Linked DNA regions of Homo sapiens: region 1 is linked to region 2. Evidence: promoter capture Hi-C in 16 types of primary human blood cells and fetal thymus (Javierre and others, 2016). All regions are on one chromosome and are shown on one strand. The core of a region is centred on a gene start or on the middle of the fragment in contact, and the rest is flanking DNA. Distances in the headings are between cores, read along the strand shown. Region 1 has its middle 25 kb from the start of OR4D1. Region 2 holds the start of OR4D2 (olfactory receptor family 4 subfamily D member 2).

Evidence for each region. The method cuts DNA at HindIII sites, captures the fragments that hold promoters and counts their contacts. A CHiCAGO score of 5 or more calls a contact.
Region 1: a contact is called between a fragment that was not itself captured here and the fragment with the promoter of OR4D2 in region 2, in 3 of 17 cell types (total CD8 T cells, non-activated CD4 T cells and naive CD4 T cells). The highest score is 5.6, in total CD8 T cells.

Annotation. Positions count from the first base shown.
Region 1 is chr17:58,120,176-58,126,389 of GRCh38, forward strand. No RefSeq gene overlaps it. Among named protein-coding and RNA genes, the nearest start is that of OR4D1, 25 kb to the right of the region's middle. RefSeq lists a silencer at 73-367. The HindIII fragment of the contact is 2,884 bases long and covers 2,206-5,089 here.
Region 2 is chr17:58,163,583-58,169,463 of GRCh38, forward strand. OR4D2 (olfactory receptor family 4 subfamily D member 2) reads left to right here and starts at 3,400. Exons shown (of 2, transcript NM_001004707.4): 1 at 3,400-3,471. The HindIII fragment of the contact is 4,615 bases long and covers 2,264-5,881 here.

The sequences.
Region 1 (6,214 bases), core at 2,398-4,897, 43 kb before region 2:
CAACCCTTTGCTGTAATAAATTTGTTAATTAATTGAACAAAAATTTATTCAGTGCCTACTATGTGATATTTTGTGGGGAGGAGTTTTCTAAGCCCGACTTGGAGGAAGACCATGGATTTAACCTGCAAGGTGTCCACTGCCAGCCTTGACGGGCCCTTCTGGAGGAACTTGCAGGGTGAGGTGAGCGTTGGGAGCTTTTTTAGGTGTCTGTAGCCATGTGCTACTGTCCATGGTCCTGAAACACCACCATTGCTCTTTAGGACACGAATTCTTCTTCTAGCACAAGAACATTGGTGACTTGTGTCCAGCATCTTTCAAAAATCCTGAAACAGGTAAGGAAGAAGAAGGTAGAGGAATATAGGATATGCGGGTGGGAAGAGAATACACAGAGGCTCTTAGAAAGGCACAGCCCCAAGAGAGTGTCAGGGAGTTCTTTGGCTTTGAAATATTAATATGTATTCACTTCCACCATGAAGGAAACCACCCTAGACCTAGAACACGGCCAAGACACTGTAAAGCTGAAGAATAGGGAGAAATTTCTGCATGAGGCTAAGCAAAGGTGACTATGAACAATATTGGGACGGCAATATCAAGATGGCTCAAGTGAAATACTAGTTATTATATCAAAGAGTTCATAATAAAATTAAGCCATATGGAGAATTTTACATATTTATTACATACTCATTATATAATATGTATAATATATAAATTACATATTTTATGTCATATATAATACATTGTATATATTTTATATGTAATGATAATATACACTATATGTAATATTCCTCATAACATATTCATTATAAAATTAAGCCATATGGAAAAGTTTAAAGAAGAAACAAACCACCCAGTTCTGTCACTCTGAAATATGATAGTTCAGGCCGGGCGTGGTGGCTCACGCCTGTAATCCCAGCATTTTGGGAGGCTGAGGCAGGCGGATCACAAGGTCAGGAGTTCGAGACCAGCCTGACCAACATGGAGAAACTCTGTCTTTACTAAAAATACAAAAATTAGCTGGGCGTGGTGGCGCACGCCTGTAATCCCAGCTACTCAGGAGGCTGAGGCAGGAGAATCTCTTGAACCCAGGAGGCAGAGGTTGCAGTGAGCTGAGATCGTGCCACTGCACTCTAACCTGGGCAACAGAGCGAGACTCCACCTCAGAAAAAAAATATGATAGTTCATCAAATCTAGGTTTTGATTATACTTCAAATCATTTTTTGTATCACTAAAAAAAACCTACCAATTAAACCATAACAAAATGCTTTACATAATCTAGAGTTTTTATTAAAAGAACTGTTTTAAACTTGTATAAATATATATTTTATAGCATGTTACTCATATACAAACATAAACAAAAAATATAAGAAATAAATTGGTCCAATATATTTCTAAAACACCTTCACATTTAGCGTTCAACTCTTCTGAATCACCTTTTGGCTCAGTCGTTGTGTGTGTGTGTGTGTTTGTGTGTGTGTGTGTGTGTGTGTGTGTGTGTGAATACAATATCCTTTGTGCATCAAGAGTATCAATGATGCAGCATTTCTTAAAAGAGTGCTCAGCTTCACGCCTGCAATCCTAGGCCTTGGGAGGCCAAGGCGGGCGGATCATGAGGTCAGGAGATCAATACCATCCTGGCTAACACTGTGAAACCCTGTCTCTACTAAAAATACAACAAATTACCCAGGTGTGGTGGTGGGCGCCTGTAATCCCAGCTACTCGGGAGGCTGAGGCAGGAGAATCACTTGAACCCGGGAGGCAGAGGTTGCAGTGAGCCGAGATCACACCACTGCACTCCAGCCTGGGCAACAAGAGCGAAACTCCGTTTCAAAAAAAAACAAAAAAACAAAAACGAGTGCTCAGCTATTGTCTCTGGACTTTATTTCCAAGGCACTGCTTGGAGTTTTGATGCTGGAACTTGCTTGATCTTACCAGAAGATGTCAGCAATGACAACTACTTCATGGCTGCCACCTGGCTGTCAGCCATTGTGTGGTCACTAGATTTCAGAGTTGTTTATATGTGAAAAAAAAAAAATCAGTATTTTAGAATGGGTGAAGACAGTAACTGGTAAACATTATTTCAAATATCTTTCTGTGCTTATAAACAACAAGAAGAATAAATGGATAGAAAGAGAAAGTTTTACATAAGGTTAGACAAAAATGATTTTGTAAAAATTAATCACTACATTTTATCAAAAATGCAAATTAAGCTTCTGAAATTTTAATGAAATTCAACAGAAGAAAAATAAATTGAAGTAGATCTGAAGGAATGGCTATAATTTAAATAATGTTTCCACCCCAGGAGATATTAATTACTAAAAGGATTCTTATAAGGGTAAGGACAAGTGGTTATAAAAACCATAAAATCATAAAGAGGTTGGAGTCATTGATTTTTCAAACCTCACACATTTCGATTTCAGACAGTATTGATTGATCCCCCGCTATAAAAGGTGAGATGGTTAGCACAGTTACACTTCCTCCCTCCTCCCTTTGCCAATCTCCCAATTTTGTTGCTTATGTTGATTTTTCTCTTGTTGGGATTTATATTATTTATATTCTGTTTTGTAATTGTAATTCCTAGCATTTATAATTAGTGTGTAAAGCTGACTTCCCAATCTTTTTGCACTGTCTTCATTTTTTTTTTTTTTTTGAGACAAGAGTTTCGCTCTTGTTGTCCACGCTGGAGTGCAATGGCGCAATCTCAGCTCACTGCAACCTCCATCTCCCAGGTTCAAGCGATTCTCCTGCCTCAGCCTCCCAAGTAGCTGGGATTACAGACATGCACCACCAAGCCTGGCTAATTTTGTGTTTTTTTTTTAGTAGAGATGGGGTTTCTCCATGTTGGTCAGGCTGGTCTCGAACTCCTGGCCTCAGGTGATTCACCCACCTCGGCCTCCCAAAGTGCTGGGATTACAGGCGTGAGCCACCGCATCCGGCTCTTCTTCATTTTTAAGTCCTTTTGGCTTTGTAATGACATCTTTTCAAAGTAAGACATGCACATAGTTTAAAAAGTCAAGTTTTACCACTTGGCCCTAAATGAAAAATTGCATTTCTCTGCTCCCTATTTTCACTTATCCAAACCTCACAGCTCTGAGGGAGTAATCCCTACCTTTTACAACGATCTCCTTTGTTGTCATGTTCACAGCCCCCAAACAGTGACTTCTTGCTATGGCAGCTGAGCTTTTCGATGATTTACTAGACCTCTCCTAACACACATATACATACACTCAGCATCCTCTCATCCTCCACATATAATTATCACCACTTTTCATTAAATCAAGATCCAGTGCAGAGGCCTGCCAACATATGTGACAGCTGTACTGGATCATTTTTTATCACCTAGGAGGTGATAAAAATATAATAATCATGAAATAAAACAAATATGTAATAGTAAGGAAAAGAAACAGTGAACCTTTTTTATTGAACTTCATATAACTAATAACAGTAAAAAATAAAAAATGAATATTGCAGTACTAAAAAAGGAAAAGCAATCATCCTAATATTGCGTCTTTTTTAGTGTAGGTGCCTTGGATGCACCAGCTTGTAATTTTTTAGCTTTTTCAGTAACTTTATGTAATGTTGAAGGTATTATACATTTCAAGATAGAGCCATACATTGCTTTTTTACATTTTTTCCTTACTGAAGTCCACTGGATTAATATTGTTTCATGTTAGTATGGGTACCTCACTTCAAGTTTCTTTATAAAATTCAGAGTAATTACAAACTGAATCAGTTGCTGGTTTCACAACAATATTACAAATGACCGCAAGTTCTTCCAAGCTCCTGCAGGACAAAAAGCACAACTATTTATCAAAGAATTCTTATATCTATGTAACAGAATTTTTGTCTTTAGTTACAATCTGATATATTAATATTTTAGGTTAGTAATTGTTCAATAACTATTAAGTGATCTTTAAAAATAAAACAAATGTCTCCAAAGGGTACCATTTAGGAAAGTACTAATAATAACACTAATTATACATTACATTTTTCTGGATTCATTCTTTAGTTTTAAAAACTAATAATTAATGGCCGGGCGCGGTGGCTCACGCTTGTAATCTCAGCACTTTGGGAGGCCGAGGCCGGTGGATCATGAGGTCAGGAGATAGAGATCACCCTGGCTAACGTGGTAAAACCCCGTCTCTACTAAAAATATAAAAAAATTAGCTGGGCATGGTGGCGGGCGCCTGTAGTCCCAGCTACTCGGGAGGCTGAGGCAGGAGAATGGCGTGAACCCGGGAGGCGGAGGTTGCAGTGAGCCGAGATCCCACCACTGCACTCCCAGAGCGAGACTCCGTCTCAAACCAAACAAAAAAAAACAAACAAAAAAACCTAATAATTAAAAAAAAAGAATAAATTTTAGGCCAGGCACAGTGGCTCACCCCTCCAGCACTTTAGGAGGCCGAGGCAGGTGGATCACCTGAGGTCAGGGATTCGAGACCAGCCTGACCAACATGGCGAAATCCTATCTCTACTAAAAATACAAAAATCAGCTGGGTGTGGTAGCGGGTGCCTGTGGTAGCGGGTTCCAGCTACTCAGGAGGCCGAAGCAGGAGAGTTGCTTGAACCCGGGAGGCGGAGGTTGCAGTGAGCTGAGATGGCACCATTGCACTCCAGCCTGGGCAACAAGAGCGAAACTCCGTCTCAAAAAAATTTTTTTAAAATTATTTAAATTAAGTAAAGCATATCATATATGAACAAAAACTGGCATTTACCAACCAAAAATATTATATTGTACCTTTTTGTTTGCACTGTTTCATTATTTTTAAACTCCAAGTGATTTGCACAGAATGACAAGATGAAGTAACTCAAGTTCTGTTTCTTTGTCGTTACAATACTGTGCTTGAATTATTTTTAATCTACTGTTTAAAAGCAGGAATGTGTGGTACCACAGGGGTAGAGACATAAACTGCACTAGAAATGAACCTGAACAATGATTCTGAACTATTATAAGTTTACTCTCAAACAATTGCCTGTAGCTGAATCTGTGTGTGTTGAAGATGGAATGTACAACTGGGAGTTGCTCAATTAGCTTTCATGTAAAACATAAAATGTTTATTAAAGGATAAATAATAAGAATGTGTTCATTTGAAGCTTGCAAATATAATGTTAAAGCTCAACAGTAATTTCAGAAATTATTTATAAATTATAAATTAGACAAACAAAAAATTTTCAGTGGGGGGAAAGAAGAATTTTATAATTGACACTATTTAGAATTGCTAGTGCACAGTGACAATGAAAACCACACTGACTTCTAGTTTTGTGATAGTTTTAAAGTTACCCTCAGTAATGCACTTCTTATTGCCAGCGCTTGAGGCAGACCGCTCTCACCATCCATCTTTGGTATGCCATTGGTTCGGCGTTTATATTATCAAGGTAATGCAATTAATATTGATAGTTGAGTCATAAACTGTACTATAATTACATTCCAACTTTTTTACTTCCTGAAGTTAATAATTGCCTCTTTTTTTGTTTGTGTTGTTTTCTATACACTAGTTCATTCTGAAATTTTCCACCAGAACTGAAAATCTTCTTTGAATTTTTGTTCAGACACCCCAAATGATCTATCAATTCTGCTTTTCTCTTGATATCAGTCCTCTGGGAGCAGTACATCATCCTACCACAAACTGGACAGGTTACTTCTTAAACACATTGTCTTCCTGGAAGCAGTTATCTTCCTGGCACTTCTCTTCACCACTGCCTAAGAAGTTTCCATCATTTTCCTTTTGTGTTGATTCTCACGTCTGGATCCCGTGTTTTCCTTCTTTATTCTCTTCATCATGCCGTCACAAAAGCACATCTTTCAGTAGCTTTTGGAGAAAGGGTGTGTGGGAGGTAAATTTTTAAAACCTGGCATATCTGAAAATATCTTTGCCTTTACAGCTTTATGTTTTCATTTTAATTTTGAATTAACATTCAGTAAAGTTGACTTTGTAGACAATTTTATAATTTTTTTTTTTTGAGATGAGGTCTTGCTCTGTCACTGGAGTGCAGTAGAATGATCACAGCTCACTGCAGCCTTGACCTCCCAGGCTCAAGCGATCATCCCACCTCAGCCTCCCAAGTCACTGGGAGGCTGCCACCACACCTGGCTAATGAAAACAGTTTTTTAAATTTTGGTAGAGACAGGGTCTCAGTATGTTGTCCAGGCTGGTCTCAAACTCCTGGACTCCAGCAATCCTCCTGCCTTGGCCTCCCAAAGTGCTAGGATTACAGA
Region 2 (5,881 bases), core at 2,150-4,649:
TCTGCCAGTTACGTTTTCCATCTCTGTTTTCATATTATCATTCAATTCTTAAGATTTAATTATTCTGCTGAGCTCTTAATAGATAGAAGTTTGATTCATTTTTTTCTGAGTTATCTACATTCTTGAAAAACTTTTCAATAAAAATTTTCTTCTCTATTCTGTTCTGTGCTCTTCACCTGCCTTCTTTCCTCCTTTTTGACCTATTTTTTATAGACTCTGCAAGTTGCTTTTTAATTATTACACATTCTTAAAGAAGCAATTTGTTTAACTAGTTATGTGTTAAAATAAAAAGTGGTGGTGATGGTAGTGAAGACAGGCCAGGGAGTGCTCTGGGTTAATTGTCCTGGGCTCACAGTGCAGCACTGAACACTGAATGATAGAGGCATTTGTGTGTTTGTGTGTGTGTGTGTGTGTGTGTGTGTGCGTGCGTGTAAATTTAGTCTATCTCTTCAGCTGGTAAAGATCAGCAGCTGCAGGGGTGCCCATAGCCCACAGTTTCTCTATCTTACTGGATAGTGCAGTTATAAATGTGGCATAAGCCCAGCCTCTCAATCCCTTTTTGGTGTTTAATATCACTTAAGGAAGCTCTTGCAGCCAGCCTGTGTGCCCGGATCTGGTCCATCCACACAAAGGTGGTTGTTTTATCTTCATTATATACCACCTACTTAGGAGCCAACTCTGCCAGCATTGTCCAGGAGTTGTTGTGGGCAGAAGCCTCTCTCTCTTCACAGTACTTGATAGTCCTTCATGGTTCATTTTGGGTTTTGTTGTCATCTGAGTTGTAAACATGTCTTAATTTTATTGAAAGTGGAATTTCTGTTGCCAGTGAGGAAGAGAAAAATAAAAACCTTTGTTTTCTTATAACCAGAAGTCATTTATTCATTTAATTTTTTAAAAGTTGTCTTGGGCCACTTTTTAGTTTATAAAAATCTTACTTTTATATGATTCAGAATATCAGTTCTAAAGGTAATATACAGCACAGAAAAGCTGCTTATAATCTACAACACTGACACAAAGGGAAGGAATATAAGTAAAATTTCTTCCAGATTTATCTTACACATGGTTAATCCACAACACCAGGTGCTTAATTGAATTTGTTGAATATGCCCCCATTAAAATGAATATGGCTATATTTATGAGAATTTATGCCTTTAAGACATCTCTTACTGAGGCTATGTTCTCTGAGAGAGAGAGAGAGGAGAGAGAGAGAGAGAGAGAGAGAGAGAGATAAAGGTATTTATTGCAAGGACTTGGCTTACATGATTGTGAAGCTGGCTAGGCAAGTACGTAATCTGCAGGGCAGGCCATCAGCTGAAGTTGCTGTCTACATGCAGAATTTTCCTCCTTCAGGGAAACCTCAGTTCTTCTCTTTAGTTCTTTCAACTGATTGAATCAGGCACACCCAGATGATCTAGGATAACCTCCTTTACTTAAAGTCAACTGATTATAGACATCAATTTTATCTACAAAATACCTTCACAGCAACACCTAGATTAGAGTTTGATTGAATAACTGGAAACTATAGCCTAGTCAAGTTGACACATAACACAGACCATCACAAAGGGAGAATGATTAATTATCAATGATGCTGGGCTTCCTGCATGAGAATTTACATGATATTTCCTCTACACGTGTCCTGTATCCGTTTAGTGGCTTGACATTATAATAGTAGCTAAGTCTGACAAACATTTATTTTCTTAGAAATGTGATACATATAGAAATAATTTTCTCAGCTCAATTTTCCATGACTGAGTCTTTAGCATAATTACTCCATCCAGGCCATTCATACACTGGCAACCATTATACTGGCTAGTGGTTGCAGTAAAGATGAGCTTTGATGGACATTTTACGACCTACCTGTACTTTTGACAGGGGAAATATATAAACTGGAACCTACCAGGTCTCTATTACTGAAAGCTAAATCGGAATCATAAAGAATTAATCCAGGTAATTCAAAATCACCCATCTGAGAGTCAATAACATTAACAAGGCCTGTGCCCATCCCCACCATCAATCTAGACTACTTTCCTGAGTGGCTCAATTTTAAAGTAGACTAAAGCTCCAAATAATGGGAAGAATTTGTGTTTTTTTTAAATTGACATCTCTTGTATGTGAAAGAACGTCACTTCGTGTTCTTATCCCCAGAGGCAGAGTCTTTATTTTGCCAAGTATAAACATTCGCAATGAAAGAACTCAGACCAACCTGAGAACCTCACGTGGATCAGAGAGCTGTGAGAAATCACACAGATTTTACAGCACATCAAGCTTACAGTGTTGGTTAATTCCAATTTTTAATCAGTTCCTCATAATTAGAAAATATATGGGCTTCTTGTGCCAATCCTTGTATTAAAGGGAGTAATAATTGACATGTAAATAATGCTAGCACTTTGTAGATGGTGTGAGTATAATTGATATGGGTAGTGAATCAACTGTGGGGGTATTGGTTGACAAGATGAAGAACAAGATTTATGGGGTAATTAAGTTTTCATTTTAGTATGCAGACATTTTCCCATCCATGACGTTGCCTATGTAAAGATCAATTCAGTTTAAAAGGAGAAGAAATCAAACCAGTTACCTTGACAACACCATGAAAGAGAACTATCCATTGTGCTGAAGAGCAAGTCGTTGGTTCTCAATGTCTGGTCCCTGGAACAGGTGCATCAGCATTATCTGAGAACTTGCTACAAATGCAAATTCTTGGTCTTACCATTGATGTACTGAATGAGAAATTCTGGGCTGGGAACAGAAGTCTGCCTTTTAACAAGGCCTTCAGGTAATTCTCTCAAGGGTAGGTGTCACTGGTCTAAGAAAGAAATTCTCCTAAAACTCTCAGAGTCTCCTTTTTTTTGAAGACCCTCTTGTCCTTTTGGATCTTGGCCTGAATATTACCCATTCCTCAAATCTCTAAAATTTTCAATGTGCTTGGTACTTTGGGCCCCCCAAGGAAGACCTCTCAAAGAGTGTGTGCTTTTGAGACATTTAGAAACTTTTTAACAACTCCCATTGCTCCCTTGGCCCCAGTGATAATCAGCCCAGCTCAGCTTCCTGAGCCCTGTCCAATAGTTTCTCCCAAAGGATATTCCCCCTTCCCCTGGGGTCTCACCCATGGTATTATTCATGAAGTAAGGGCAGGAGCTAAGAAACTGTGAGGCTGAAGCAAAGGATCTCCAAGAAGATGTACACTGAAGCCCCATTCTGGGCTAAAGGGAGGTGAGAGACCAGTGTTTCCTCAGCTGCACAGAGATCAGCTGTAAGAAAGATCTTGCAACACCTGCTAGAGGGTGGGAGTAATAAGCAAGTGACATAGACCTGACGATAGTAAGTCTAAAGGATGAGCAGAGACTCAAGAAAAACTGCAAGGGGAATGTGATGTTGAAAACGGATGCCTCCGATTACATAGGAAAACAACAAAGCACAGAATTCGCCCTATGAGACTTAGAGGGAGGATGCTCACAGCAAAGGACATCAACGGTGAGGAAAATCACAAGATTCTCGACATTGTCACATAAAACAAAGTCACATTTACCTGCTAATATATTAAGTTGGCAAACATTTCTGAGCAAGTGCTAAATCAGAGATGCTGTCATAGACTCTGGGCTTACTAAGTTATTGAATTTACAATCTAGTTAAGAGAAGCAATAGAAAAAATGATAAATGCTATAATGGAGGTATTTATCAAATGCTATTGGAACACAGAGAAATAAGGAATTAATTCTGCATGAGAGAAATGGGGGGAGGAGTCAAAGGGAAAGTGATATTTCTCTTATCGCCTCTAGGTTGAGAAGGTAGCAAAAGGCATTTCAGGAAACAGGATTTATTACCAAAGATATGAAAATAATGAAATATACTGCCTACATGGAAGCTATGAGTTCTTTGAACAGCAATCAGTTCCCAGGTGACAGTGATACTGATTAGAAAGGTATAGGGAGGCTATTTTTTATAGTCTTGTATGAAATGCTGAGAGAGAGTTGCATGCACGTATGTAGGTATGTTTTTCCACCCTCAGTTTATCCACAGAGCATTTTAGGTGGCTTCTGAGAGTTTGAGTTTTAAGCTGTGAGCAAATCAAATATTATAACAATGAGGAATATGATCACATCTGAGTCAGAGGGGTCTCATGGACAGCTGTGTAGAAGGTGTCCTGGAGTGAGGCCAGGCGCGGTGGCTCATGCCTGTAATCCCAGCACTTTGGGAGGCGGAAGCGGGCGGATCACGAGGTCAGGAGATCGAGACCATCCTGCTAACACAGTGAAACCGTGTTACAAAAAAAATTAGCCGGGCGAGGTGGTGGGCGCCTGTAGTTCCAGCTACGCGGGAGGCTGAGGTAAAAGAATGGCGTGAACCCGGGAGGCGGAGCTTGCAGTGAGTGAGCCGAGATCGCGCCACTCCAGCCTGGGCGACAGCGAGACTCCGTCACAAAAAAAAAAAAAAAAAAAAAAAGAAGGTGTCCTGGAGTGGAAGTAAACTGAAGGAGCAGAATAAGATTAGAATGACCTATAATATTGTAGATAATAGATTGCAATAGGCCAGGTAAGAGAGGGTAAGAGAGATTGAGACAGGGCAGGGGGAGGGGGGAGACCACTGACCCCCTCCCCTGTCACCCTCCATCTTCTTCTTCTTTTTTTTTTGTTTTTGATTTTTTGAGACAGAGTCTCGCTCTGTCACCCAGGCTGGAGTGCAGTGGCATGACCTCCACTCACTGCAGCCTCCAACCAGCTTCAAGCGATTCTCCTGCCTCAGCCTCCCAAGTAGCTGAGATTACAGGTGTGTGCCACCACGCCCGGCTAATTTTTTTGTATTTTTAGTACAGATCCGGAGTTTCACCATGTTGGCCAGGCTGGTCTCAAACTTCTGACTTCAAGTGATCCATCCGCCTCCGCCTCCCAAATTTCTGGGACTACAGGCGTGAGCCACCTCTCCCGGCTCCTCCATCTTCTTCTGTCCCTTTAGTCCCGTTTTCTCCACCTCCCCAGCACTTTTCCACTTCCTTTACCTTCACTTGCTCTATTCCTTCATCTCCCTTTATTCCTTTGTCTATTTCTATTTGTTTTCTTTCAACAACTTCCTTTGTCTCCCACCCTTGGATTCAGTAACATCTTGTAAAATTCCTGTTTCATTCAGAAGCTCTCTGAGTCCCCTTCATACAATATTCATCATCTATTTCTCAATCCAATGACTCTCCCTCCCTTTTCTCCCTCTTGTCTCAGCACCACCACATATGCCTCACTCATAAGGGGCCGCCCACAGTGGAGGGCAGGGGAACTACTGGATGTCTCAGGCATCCAGCTGCATCCAGTGTCTTCCTTGTGCTGAACTTGTGCACCTGATAGCTATTCACCCATGCAGCAGTCAACACCAAGAGCTTTTTAAGTTAACTGTCATTAAGAATGGGTACTGCAGGGCACAAATAAATTGTGAGATCCAGATATAGGCTTTGGACTTAATAGTTGAATTGTGGAGGGAAAATATAGACAAGGAAAATCCATTAACACGATGATGTATTAAATGTCATGTGAAAAATAATTGGCAAAGAATCTTATTACAGAGTGGAAGAGAGGATATCTTTAGATTAAGAGAATTCACACAGGTGAGTAATTGCCATTGATTATTCCATACACTGTTTTAGGAACTTTATATCTATCATTCTACTTAAGTCCTCAGAAAATTCTACAAAGCAGGTATTTTTATTTCTACCTTACAAATTCCCGTGAAAACTGAGGCCCAGAAAGATTAAGTAAGTTACTCATGGTCAAATCACAATGAAATGAAAGACCTGAAATTTGACTTCAGATGTATCTGACTCCAAGTGTCTTCCCACCACTATATGAATCTTTGAAAGGCAGGTTGTATATACTTCTGGATGGCGTTAAGATTTCAGGAA